4 separate regions of the Homo sapiens genome follow, and regions 1, 2 and 4 are each linked to region 3. Evidence: promoter capture Hi-C in 16 types of primary human blood cells and fetal thymus (Javierre and others, 2016). All regions are on one chromosome and are shown on one strand. The core of a region is centred on a gene start or on the middle of the fragment in contact, and the rest is flanking DNA. Distances in the headings are between cores, read along the strand shown. Region 1 overlaps NOTO (notochord homeobox). Region 2 overlaps EGR4 (early growth response 4). Region 3 holds the start of EMX1 (empty spiracles homeobox 1). Region 4 has its middle 10 kb from the start of NOTO.

Region 1 (2,700 bases), core at 192-2,691, 290 kb before region 3:
TGGGAGGATCACCTGAACCTGGGGAGGTCTAGACTGCAATGAGCCGTGATCAAGCCACAATTATCTATCAAATAATTATAGATAGATAGATAGTTGGCAGGGACAGAGAAAGGTTCTTGAAACTGACCCTGCCTCTCCTCAAGCTTGCAACCTGGTGTCAAGGAGCGAATAGTCCACGGACTTGGGGGAGATAGATAGTTGGCAGGGCCAGAGAAGAGGCTCTTGAAACCGACCCTGGGTCCCCTCAAGCCTGCAGCCCGGTGTCAGGGAGCGAATAGTCCACGTACTTGGGGGCAAACCTACCCGAGAGCAGCTGGGGGCCGTGCCCTCACTCACCACCAGGTGGCAGGGCAGGCTTCCTTCCATCCCTCAGCTCAGTCCCCAAGAGCCATTCTAGAATCTGAATGGTCTGTGCTACAGAAATCAGCTCTGCAAATCCTGGCAGCAGGCTTCTTTCAGAGAAATCGAGCACATTCTTGAGAAGAAAAAGGAGCCATGAGTCAGAGTCATGAAAGGGGGAAATTATAACTGTCCTGTGAAAACACAGCAGAGTTTATGACAAAATGCCAGCCTTGGCATACACAAATTATTCTATAAAAAGATGGGGCTTTGGGAGGCCAAGGCAGGAGAACCACTTGAAGCCTGGAATTCAAGACCAGCCTGGGCAACAAGTGGACGTTGTCTCTACAAAAAATGTTAAAAATTAGCCAGGCGTGGTGTCACGCGCCTGTAGTCCCAGCTGCTTAGGAGGCTAAGGTGGGAGGATCACTAGAGCCCAGGAGGTTGAGGCTGCCGTGAGCTATGATTGCACCACTGCACTCCAGTCTGGGTGACAGAGCGAGTCCTTGTCTTTGCTGCTGGGCCTGAGCTTCTTCTGAGAATGGTAACAGTTCAGACAAAACAAGAAAACGTTGGGAAACTTTGTGAAGTGGGCTAAACAGTCTACCTTCTCTTCTTTGCTCTCAACTCCTTCTGATGGTGAAGAGTCTTCTATGCCCAGATGCTTATTCAAAGAGGTTCCTTCTCCACAGCCAGGCCAGGAAAATATTAATTGCTGGTACAGGTATTACTCCCCCAGGTGAGGGGAGCTGTGATATTATGAAATATATATTTGGTCTTCATCTCGATTTCCTGGCATAGAACTCCTAAAATCCCTAGAATCTCTGAAGTGATGTCTTTTCATATGCTAATGAGTTGACTGATGACTGGTAGACCTTAAGACTCCATAAAAAACAAAAAGGGCAGGGTTGGGCCGGGTGGTGGCTCACACATGTAATCCCAGCACTTTGGGAGGCCGAGGTGGGTGGATCACAAGGTCAGCAGTTCAAGACCAGCCTGACCATATGATGAAACCCCGTCTCTACTAAAAATATAAAAATTAGCCAGGCATGGTGGCATGCGCCTATAGTCCCAGCTGCTCGGGAGGCTGAGGCAGGAGAATCGCTTGAACCCGGGAGGCGGAGGTGGCGGTGAGCCAAGATCGCGCCACTGCAGTCTGTCTCAAAAAAAAAAGAAAGGAGGGGCTGCCATGTGGAATGAGCCCTGAATCTGTGGGGTCAGACACTACCTGCAGGTAGATCATGTCAGAATTTGCTGAACTGGAGGTTGGAATGTGGGGTACACCCCTATACGTTTGGTCACAGAAGTGTTCTGTGTTGATTGTTGTGGGGTGACAGCAGAAGAAAAAAACTTTTTTTTTTCCAGTTGGTCTTCTCTACTCAGGGGCCTACAAGCCTTAACAGTAACCACACACTTTGCACTGTGCATGGCACATTATTGCTTTACAGACATCTTCTCACCCCTGGGTGATCTAAGTTATGAATGCACCCATTATACAGATAAAGAAAAAAGGCTCGGAAGTTCCATAGGTTGGCCAAGGACATAGCTGAAGGCCAGAGTCTGTGCCTCCAATCATTACATTATTCCAGTTTCCAGGAATCAGTATAGAAAAGGGGGTCCCTGCTTGACAGCTCAGATTCTTCTGGTTGAGGAGGCTTTTCGTTGAGGTGTGAGGCAGGGAGCTCCAGTGGGTACCCCCAGGAGGAACTAGTCCAGGCAGCCTGGCTAGGGCCTCTGTCCCAGTCTTCAGCCGTCCACTCCTGACTCGGCATCATCACTCTGGATACTGGCGATGGAGCTGCTGGAAGGCTCATCCAGGGAGGCAGCCTCGGCAGATGTAACTGCTGCCCTCAGCTTTTGCTGCTTCTGATACTTGACCCTGCGGTTCTGGAACCAGACTCTCACCTATAATTGGAGAGTGGGCAGAGATCAGAATGTGACCATCAGGTCCCACTGCTTCCTAATTCCTGGAGTGAACACCCCTCTCTGCCTGGCCAATATTTGCTCTTCCTTCTCAGGGAGGTACCTCCTCCAAAACACCCCTTTCTACAATTCCAGACACCATTCATTCATCTGAGTATTTACTGAGTTTCCAGTATGTGCTAAGCACCATCCTAGGTGATGCTGATACAGTGGTGAGCAACAGAGGCAAGCTGCCTGCCCTCGTGGAGCTCATGAGCTAGTGAAGAAACACTGGCAAGAAACATGTAAACAAACAAAGAGCTATGTAAACACAAAAGGGGGTACAAACAGGGGTTTGGGCAGAGGAGGCCTCCCTAAGGAGCCAGCATTAAAGCTGAGGCTCAAAGAGAGAGAGGCCCACCTGATGGGGACAGAGAAGAGCAGGTCTGCAGGGCAGGG
Region 2 (2,758 bases), core at 80-2,579, 370 kb before region 3:
GCCGCGCCATGCTCCACCTTAGCGAGTTTTCCGAACCCGACGCGCTCCTCGTCAAGTCCACTGAAGGCTGTTGCGCCGAACCCAGCGCTGAATTGCCCCGGCTGCCTGCCAGGGACGCTCCCGCGGCCACCGGCTACCCTGGAGGTAAGGAGGGCGAGCAGGGGTGCTCAGACGACGACGGCGCAGCGCGGGGGCGCACCATACCTGAGAACCAGGAGGGACTGGGACATTGGAGCTATGAGAATAGGGGCGATGGGAAGCTTAGGAGTCCTGGGGTGCGCACCCCCATTCCCACCCACACTGGGCCGCCAGCGCCTCCGCAGGAACCTGTGCGGTTATCGGAGCGCCCTTTTGCCTGTGCACGTGTGTTTTGCGTGTGCATGTTTCTATGTGCTCCTTGGGACGTATGCGGGCCCCTGCTGAATCAGAATGTGCAAAAGGCACTTTGTGTATATCCGTGGGCACCAAGAGTTTTGTAGGTAGGGGCTGTGGACTCAGGTGCACCCTTTGATGTGCCCAGAGCTGATTCCTGCTCCCTCCTCAGCAGGCGACTTCTTGAGCTGGGCTTTGAACAGCTGCGGCGCAAGTGGGGACTTAGCCGACTCCTGCTTCCTGGAGGGGCCTGCGCCCACACCCCCTCCCGGCCTCAGCTACAGCGGTAGCTTCTTCATTCAGGCAGTGCCCGAACACCCGCACGACCCGGAGGCACTCTTCAACCTCATGTCGGGCATCTTAGGCCTGGCACCCTTCCCCGGTCCAGAGGCAGCAGCGTCCAGATCCCCGCTGGATGCCCCTTTTCCTGCGGGGTCCGATGCCTTGCTGCCGGGTCCGCCGGACCTTTACTCCCCGGATCTGGGCGCTGCCCCTTTCCCAGAGGCGTTCTGGGAGGCCTCGCCTTGCGCGGGTGCCCCCTCGCAGTGCCTGTATGAGCCTCAGCTCTCCCCGCCCGACGTCAAGCCCGGCCTCCGGGCGCCTCCCGCCTCGCCAGCGCTGGACGCTGTCTCTGCCTTCAAGGGTCCCTACGCGCCCTGGGAGCTGCTTTCTGTGGGGGCCCCAGGGAACTGTGGGTCACAGGGAGACTACCAGGCCGCCCCGGAGGCTCGTTTTCCCGTAATAGGGACCAAGATTGAGGACTTGCTGTCCATCAGCTGCCCTGCGGAACTGCCGGCCGTCCCAGCCAACAGACTCTATCCCAGCGGGGCCTATGACGCTTTCCCGCTGGCCCCGGGTGACTTAGGGGAGGGGGCTGAGGGCCTCCCTGGGCTCCTGACCCCTCCTAGTGGGGAGGGAGGGAGTAGCGGCGACGGCGGAGAGTTTCTGGCCAGTACGCAGCCTCAGCTTTCCCCGCTGGGCCTTCGCAGCGCCGCCGCGGCGGACTTCCCTAAACCTCTGGTGGCGGACATCCCTGGAAGCAGTGGCGTGGCTGCACCACCCGTGCCGCCGCCGCCGCCCACCCCTTTCCCCCAGGCCAAGGCGCGACGCAAGGGGCGCCGCGGCGGCAAATGCAGCACGCGCTGCTTCTGCCCGCGGCCGCACGCCAAGGCCTTCGCTTGCCCGGTGGAGAGTTGTGTGCGGAGCTTTGCGCGCTCCGACGAGCTCAATCGCCACCTGCGCATCCACACGGGCCACAAACCCTTCCAGTGCCGCATCTGCCTCCGCAACTTCAGCCGCAGCGACCACCTCACCACGCACGTGCGCACCCACACCGGCGAGAAGCCTTTTGCTTGCGACGTGTGCGGCCGCCGCTTCGCGCGCAGCGATGAGAAGAAACGGCACAGCAAGGTGCACCTCAAGCAGAAGGCGCGCGCCGAGGAGCGGCTCAAGGGCCTCGGCTTTTACTCGCTGGGCCTCTCCTTCGCTTCTCTCTGAGCAAGAGATGGGTTTATGGGTTGGGGCGCCGCCGTTCGGCGCGCACGAGTTCCGGGCCGTTCCCCTCCCCGCTCTTCTTCCAACTCCTCCTCGCACGCCCGAGGGCCGGCCTCCGGTCCCGCTTCCAGTTTCCTTGAAGCGCCCGCCGCACACGCCCTATTCAGCACCAGCTCCGCGGACAGTTCCCGCGGTCCAGGCGCTGTCACCCTTGTCAGCCGCGCTTTGGGGGAAGTCTTCTGAGACCACCCAGTGAATAGGCACTACCCTGGGATTCAAGACAGTCTTTTGTAACTGGCACACGCCCCACGCCTTCCTCTATAACCCCCAGAGACAGGCTGGGGCAGCGCCAAGGCGGTCTCGCGCGGGACTTTGTACAGCAGTGTCTTATCCAGCAGCCATTGGATGTAACGTTTTGCTTTGGGTTTTTTTTCCTTTTGTTGTTGTTAATTTTTGTAAAGCAGACGCTACTCTCAAGCAGTTGACAAAACTGTTTATTTTTGCAATTAAAATTATTGTGCTAAAAGCTTACTGAATCTGCCATGTAAGCTCCTGACCCTTCCCCTTAGCTTCTCCCCCAGGACCATATGTGCCAGAAGATAAAGGAGATCCCCACGCTCATGGGATACAGACCCTGAACATATTACACACCCACTGTCAGGCACACCTGCCAGGAACTGCGGCACAGAGTAGGCATTCAGTAAATGTGTGTTGGGTTAATGAACGAATTTAATCACAGCTCACCTAAGGGCTGGAGGTGTTTCTGGAACTTCAAAGTGGTTAAAAGGCGTAGGTGTTCAACATTATGTATATATTATTCTCCTTAATCCTCGCATTCCCAAATAAAGCAGGCATATACCTCATTTCAAAGATGTGGAAGCAATGTAGATAG
Region 3 (2,977 bases), core at 321-2,820:
GCCCCCTGCCCGGGAAAACTGTCCTCGGTATTCCAGCAGCCGGGTGGGCTCCCTCCCGAAGGCGGCGAGCAACGGCGGAAGCCAGTTTGCTTACTGCAAACCTTCCCCACCTTGGGTAGGAGAGGCACGTGTGACTTGGAGAAGTCGGGCCAAGGTTGCCGAGAAACATCCCAAGACAGCCAGGCCCTCCACACTGAACATTAACTCTCCGATTCGCCCTCCCTGCTGCCCTTGCTTCCCCCAGAGCTGGGGCACGCGAATGGACTTTCCCCCGCCCGGACGCGCCAGCGAAGGCTGAGGTCTCGGAGGTGGTGGTGGACTTGCGAGAGAAGCGTGGTGCGAGGTTAAGCCGGGCGGAGGGAGAGCGGGAGGAGTTGTACTCTGGTCTGAGACTGGCTCAGCTGGGAGAGAGAATTGGGCAGGCTGTGGCGAGGGCCAGCACAGGCTCCGAGGACGCGCCTGGGCTTGCGTCCGAACTGGTATATTTTCTAGAAAAGCCTGGAGGTCTCCACCTGCTTTCCTGGGAGGGAGACCTACGCGGCGAAGGCGCGGGTGGATGCCGCACAGCTCTTCCCTGCCTGGGAATCTACCTCCGCGGACCTGCAGCCTTCCCGGCAGTAACTTCTAAACAGCCCCGCGCGCCCCCGAGCCTCCCCCGCATCGCCGCAGCACGGGCGCCGGCCGGCCGCCTCGGCGGGCACAGCGTGGACACTCACCCTGGAAGCGGTGGCCGAAGAAGCGGTTCCGCAGGACCCAGGGGTAGAAATGGAGAGGGTCCCGGTGCTGGGCGCCGAAGAAGGAGTGCGGGGGCTGCAGCGGGGAGGCGCCCAGCTGGTGCGCCGGATGCACGGTCAGCGCGGGGTGGTTCATGGCCTCGGGGAACACGAGCTCGGGCCCACCGTAGAGCGAGCGGCCCGCGCCCGCGGCGGCCGCGGCAGGGAAGCCACTCACGAAGGCCGCCTCGGCCGCGCTGGGGTGAGGGTAGTTGAGCGCCGTGGGCCGGAGCGGTTCCTCGGAGGCGGCCGCCGCCAGGAGATGGGAGCCCGCGCCCCCGCCGCCAGTGCCCCCGCCGGTGCCGCCGTCCTTGGCCACCAAGGACTCTATGGTAAAGCCGCGCTTGGCCGCGGGCTGGAACATGGTCGCAGCCGCGGGAGCTGTGCGAGGCAGCCGGGCTCTGGGGAGCGCTCCGCGTCCTGGCGCCGCCGCCTTGCGGGGTGTGCACCCAGCCAGGCACATGCACACCCGCCCGCACCCCTCACCTCCCCCGCCCGCCCGCTCGCGCTCGGCCCCCGCGGGCGAGCCAGGCGCGGAGCGGCGAGGGGTGTGTGAGCGAGCGACCGCGGGGTCCGGCCACAGCGTACGGCCAGGCGCGGCGGCTGCTGCGGCGGAGCGGGCAGCTCCAGGCGCCCGCACAGGCGCGGGCTCCGTGCTAGGCTGCGAGCTGCCAGTAAGGCCCGAGGGTTGAGCTCGTCTCCCTCCTTTCGGAGTCCCGCTGGGACCGACCCCAGCCCCCGGTGTCCCCGCACTGCCCTGCCCAGCCCCGGCCGCCCAGCGCTGCGAGGCGCGAGTTAGCGGGCACCTGCCCCGCGCTCGCCCATTGGCCGCCGCTCACCTGCCCCAAGGTGGGGGGCGGGGCGGGGCGGGGCGAGGGACGGCGGGTGGGGAGGGAGCCCGCAGTCGGAGGCAAAAGCCGGACTGGAGCCTTCGCGGGGAGATCCAGGCCTCCTCCTCCCCTCGCCACTGGCTTCTCCTCGCGACTCCGCCCTTTAGCTGAGTCTGGTGGCCGTGCCGCCGTCTCAACCCACGCGGGAGCCGAAGAAGGCGTCCGAAGGGCTTGGGGCTAAACTCCAACCCTCCCCTCCCCGGTGTGTAGCTCAGCCTAACTCTCCCATTCGTCCCGGGATGTCGTTTCAGTTCTCAGAGAACTTGGATCCGAGCGGAGGGTGGATGTTTGGGGTCCAACACATTGGTTTTCCCGAAAACCAGCTCTCTGCCCCCCTGCTCTCCGGGACTCTCCCACTCACCCACCATCGGCCTCCTGGGCCGCGGTCTGAAGCTGCGACCTTGTTCCTGAGGTTTCGCGTTTTCTGGATGTCACGGGGGACAGCTCTGGAAAGGGGACGCTCACTCCCTTCACAAGGGGCCAGGCGGGGCACTGCGCGGGAGAAGCCGCCGGAGCGGTCCCACTGCCACCCTCCAGCTGTTCGCGGGGCTGGAAGCAGCTCCAGTGCCCAGACACGGTGCCGCGACCGGCTTGGACCAGGACGGCGGGCCTCGGCACTGGGAGATCCACCCCCTCGCCTTCTCTGAGGCTCTGGGGGCTCAAGTGTCGGCGGGCCGGACCAGGTCAGGGCCTCGGAGACACTGTGGCTTAAATTGAAGCTGGCCAAGTAGCCCGAGCCCATCTCAAGAGAACACGCCAGCCGTCAGGACACGCAGAAGCAGCCTGACCTCCCTCGACCTTCACCTTCCACCCGCGACCGCGGAACCGCGGACGACTCTGCTCCGGCCAGTTTTTCCGTACGGCGGACGAATTCCCCGGGGGCAGTTCTCACGACAGGCTGTGAGAGCCGGGACTCCCCAAACTTTCCCACCCCACCTTCGAGGCCGCAGAAAGGCGCCGCTCCGAGGCCTAGGAGGGCGCGGGCGGCGGTGGGGAGGCTGGGACCTGGACCTTGCCGGCGCACTGCGGAGAGGGAGCCGCAGAGAGTTCCGCTTCCTCGCCGCTGCCGGGGTCCATTCTAGCGGCCTGAGCGCTGCCTGGGCGCGCAGATCTGGGTTGGGCCTCCTGACGCCCCAAGGCCACGGGGTCCGTGCGCCGCGCAACTCTGCGGGGACTCCAGGCCGGGTCTTGGCAGCGGCCCGCCTGAGCGCCGGGAGCCGTGGTTTGGAGAGCGCTCAGGGCGCCCCGGCCGCCACAAAGCGGGTTAAAGTCTATTTTCCACTCGACTGCTCCGAAAAGCCCCCGCGCGCCGAC
Region 4 (2,866 bases), core at 239-2,738, 270 kb before region 3:
TTTCTTTTCTTTTCTTTTCCTTTCTTTCTTTCCTTCTTTCTTTCTTTCTTTCTTTCTTTCTTTCTTTCTTTCTTTCTTTCTTTCTTTCTTTTTGTTGTTGTTGTTGTTGTTGTTGGAGACAGGGTCTTGCCCTGACACCCAGGCTGGAGTGCAGTGGGTGATCTCAGCTCACTGCAACCTCCACCCTCTGGGCTGAAGCCATCCTCCTACCTCTGCCTCCTGAGTAGCTGGGACCACAGGCACGTGCCACTGTGCCCAGCTATTTTTTTATAGTTTTAGTAGAGATGGGGTCTTGCCATGTTGCCCAGGCTGTTCTCAAACTCCTGAGCTCAAGTGATTCGCCTGCCTTGGCCTCCCAAAGTGCTGGGATTTTTTTTTTTTTTAATAGAGATGGGGCCTCACTATGTTACCCAGCGTAGTCTTGAACTCCTGGGCTCAAGCGATTCGCCTGCCTCAGCCTCCCAAAGTGCTGGGATCACAGGAGTGAGCCGCTGAGCCCAGCCAGGAGAATAATTTGCAATAGCTACTAAAATGTCAAAAGATTCCTTTTCAAAGATTCCTGTATAAGGATGTACATTGTAGCACCTTTTATAGTAGCAAAAGCCTGGAGGCAACTTAAGCATTCCCTAGATCTCCAGTGCCTAGAAGCAATCCAGGATTTTCTGATGAAATTAATTTTGGCGCTCAACCTTGAACAATCAGTTTTCTTTTTCTCACTTAATTGTGGAAATTCCTCCAAGCTACCCAGTTTAGACCTAACTCATTCTTTTTAGTGTCTGCTTAATGTTCCACAGTATGGGTGTGCCACAATTTATTCAACCTTTCTTCTGTTGAAAGGCATTCAGGTTGTTTTCTGCTTCTGCCCTACAAACAGAACTGGTAAGAAACATTATTTTAAATATATATTGTGTACTGGCTCTTTTATTTCTATACAAAAAGATCCCTGAATAGTATTAATGGACAGAAACCTGTAAGAGTTTATATTTTTAAATTGTAATTGATATTACCTTATTGATTTCTAAGACACTGTAAAAATTCACATGGCCCTTGTGACCTGCTGTATCCTCAGGGCCTAGTCCATGCCAGGGACTCAGTTGGCCAAACTAAAATAAAAATATTTAAAAAGAACAAATAAATTTGTCCAGGAGCTCTCGAGCTGTCCTCCAGCCAAATTCTTCCCCACTTCCCAACCCTCTTTCCCCACTAAAGGATTTTCCTTCCTTTTTTTTGTCTAAACCCATTAATATGCAAGTGAGCTGGGTAGCAAGGAGGAGAAGGAGGGAAAAATGGTAATAATAATAATGGGTAATATTTACAGATCACTTAAGCTTTGCACTTGGGTTATCTCACTTAAGTAGAGAATGAGTTTCCTTCTCTGGATTGAGGGAAGAAGAACGTTTTGAGCACTGGTTGAGATCTCAGAGTCACTGGGGAAGATGTGTTAGGAAGCCCCTTTGCTGCCCTTTCCCAACACCCTGTGAATCCTTGTCCCTTTTCTCCTTTTTCACTCTCCTTTTGCAGGGTCTTCATCTCTCTTTCTTTCTTTCTCTCTCTCTCTTTTCCCTCCCCTCTCTTTGTCCTTCCCTCTATTCCTTCCTTTCTCTTTCTCTCTCTTTTCTTCTTCCTTGTCTTTCCAAAGGGAAGCTTTTTCATGCAGAAGAAAGGTGCTAAATGGTGATGATGGAGTTTGTTGGACCTGGATGGAGGGCTGCCATGCAACGTGCCCTAAGTCAAGCCCAGCTTGCAGGGTCAGAGGGCCCCAGAGCTGCCTTGGGGAGGCCCCATACCACCTCCCCCTACCCCCTGCCTGGGCTGTCTCAGCTCCAGCCCACACCTGCTCTCCCCTCCCCTGCCCCTCCTGCTTCCCCTGCACCTGACAGGCCAAGAGCAAACAAGGTTGGTTGTTTGTTCCTCCCTCCCTGGAATGCACAGCTAACACATTGCACTTTGCAGTTACCTAGTGTTTCCTAACTTTTTCTTATGTATGCTGCCTTTAAGATTTTCTCTGAAATTCTATGCCCTTCAATTAGACTGAAGTCGACAAACATTTACTTGTTTGAGGCCTATTCTGTGTTGGGTTTTATGAGGGGTACAAAGTGCAATGAAATATACAATTCCTGCCCAATGGGAGCTCAGAGTCTTACGGTGAGGGTGGAGGGAGGGGACAGAGAGACTCATCCACAACTAGCTAATGCAACTGCCAAACCAAAGGGATGGATTCTATGGGAGTACAAAGGATGGAGAGATTAGTAATAACTTCATAGGCCAGGTGCAGTGATTTATGCCTGTAATCCCCACACTTTGGGAGGCCGAGGCAGGCAGATCACCTGAGGTCTGGAGTTCAAGACCAGCCTGGCCAACATAGTGAAACCCTGTCTCTACTAAAAATACAAAATTAGCCAGGCATGGTGGTGCATGCCTGTAATCCCAGCCACTCAGGAGGCTGAGGCAGGAGAATTGCTTGAACCCAGGAGGCGGAGGTTGCAGTGAGCCGAGATCGTGCCATTGCACTCCAGCCTGGGCCACAGGTGAGACTCCGTCTCAAAAATAAATAAATAAATAAATAAATAAATAAATAGATAAAGTAATAACTTCATAGGTCCAGGAGGGCTCTGTGGAGGACACTTTCCTCTGCAGAGGCATCTGAAGAGAGGGAAGTCTATCAAGGGATGAGAGTGGGTGAGATCACACGGAGAGAAAATGCTGTAGTAAAAGAGAAAGGGGCTTGTATGGATCCCTTGGGGACTGCTATGTTTAGGGACAGCAAGGACAGAAGAAGAAGGATTAGTCAGAGAGGAAGGTTGACAGCCAGGGCAAATAACCCTTGTGCAGTGAGATAAGTATGTTTTCTATTCACTTGGAGCAC

Evidence for each region. Contacts are between HindIII fragments. The CHiCAGO score rates a contact against its expected background, and 5 or more counts as called.
Region 1: a fragment that was not itself captured here is called in contact with the fragment with the promoter of EMX1 in region 3 in 1 of 17 cell types (endothelial precursors); the score reaches 7.1 in endothelial precursors.
Region 2: a fragment that was not itself captured here is called in contact with the fragment with the promoter of EMX1 in region 3 in 2 of 17 cell types (fetal thymus and total B cells); the score reaches 6.3 in fetal thymus.
Region 4: a fragment that was not itself captured here is called in contact with the fragment with the promoter of EMX1 in region 3 in 10 of 17 cell types (endothelial precursors, megakaryocytes, naive CD8 T cells and 7 more); the score reaches 10.0 in endothelial precursors.

The regions. Positions count from the first base shown.
Region 1 is chr2:73,210,315-73,213,014 of GRCh38, reverse strand. NOTO (notochord homeobox) reads right to left here. Exons shown (of 3, transcript NM_001134462.2): 3 at 502-2,244. The coding sequence ends at 2,086. Among named protein-coding and RNA genes, the nearest start is that of SMYD5, 2.6 kb to the left of the region's middle. RefSeq lists a silencer at 237-306. The HindIII fragment of the contact is 2,592 bases long and covers 146-2,700 here.
Region 2 is chr2:73,290,568-73,293,325 of GRCh38, reverse strand. EGR4 (early growth response 4) reads left to right here. Exons shown (of 2, transcript NM_001965.4): 1 at 1-144; 2 at 545-2,397. The coding sequence starts at 9. The coding sequence ends at 1,869. Among named protein-coding and RNA genes, the nearest start is that of EGR4, 1.6 kb to the left of the region's middle. RefSeq lists an enhancer at 1,492-2,187. The HindIII fragment of the contact is 2,133 bases long and covers 263-2,395 here.
Region 3 is chr2:72,916,112-72,919,088 of GRCh38, reverse strand. It overlaps EMX1 (empty spiracles homeobox 1), which reads right to left and starts at 1,570. Exons shown (of 3, transcript NM_004097.3): 1 at 717-1,570. The coding sequence starts at 1,236. RefSeq lists silencers at 1,165-1,284, 1,355-1,774, 2,915-2,977 and enhancers at 1,589-2,205, 2,206-2,823. The HindIII fragment of the contact is 6,474 bases long and covers 1-2,977 here.
Region 4 is chr2:73,190,954-73,193,819 of GRCh38, reverse strand. No RefSeq gene overlaps it. Among named protein-coding and RNA genes, the nearest start is that of NOTO, 10 kb to the left of the region's middle. The HindIII fragment of the contact is 316 bases long and covers 1,331-1,646 here.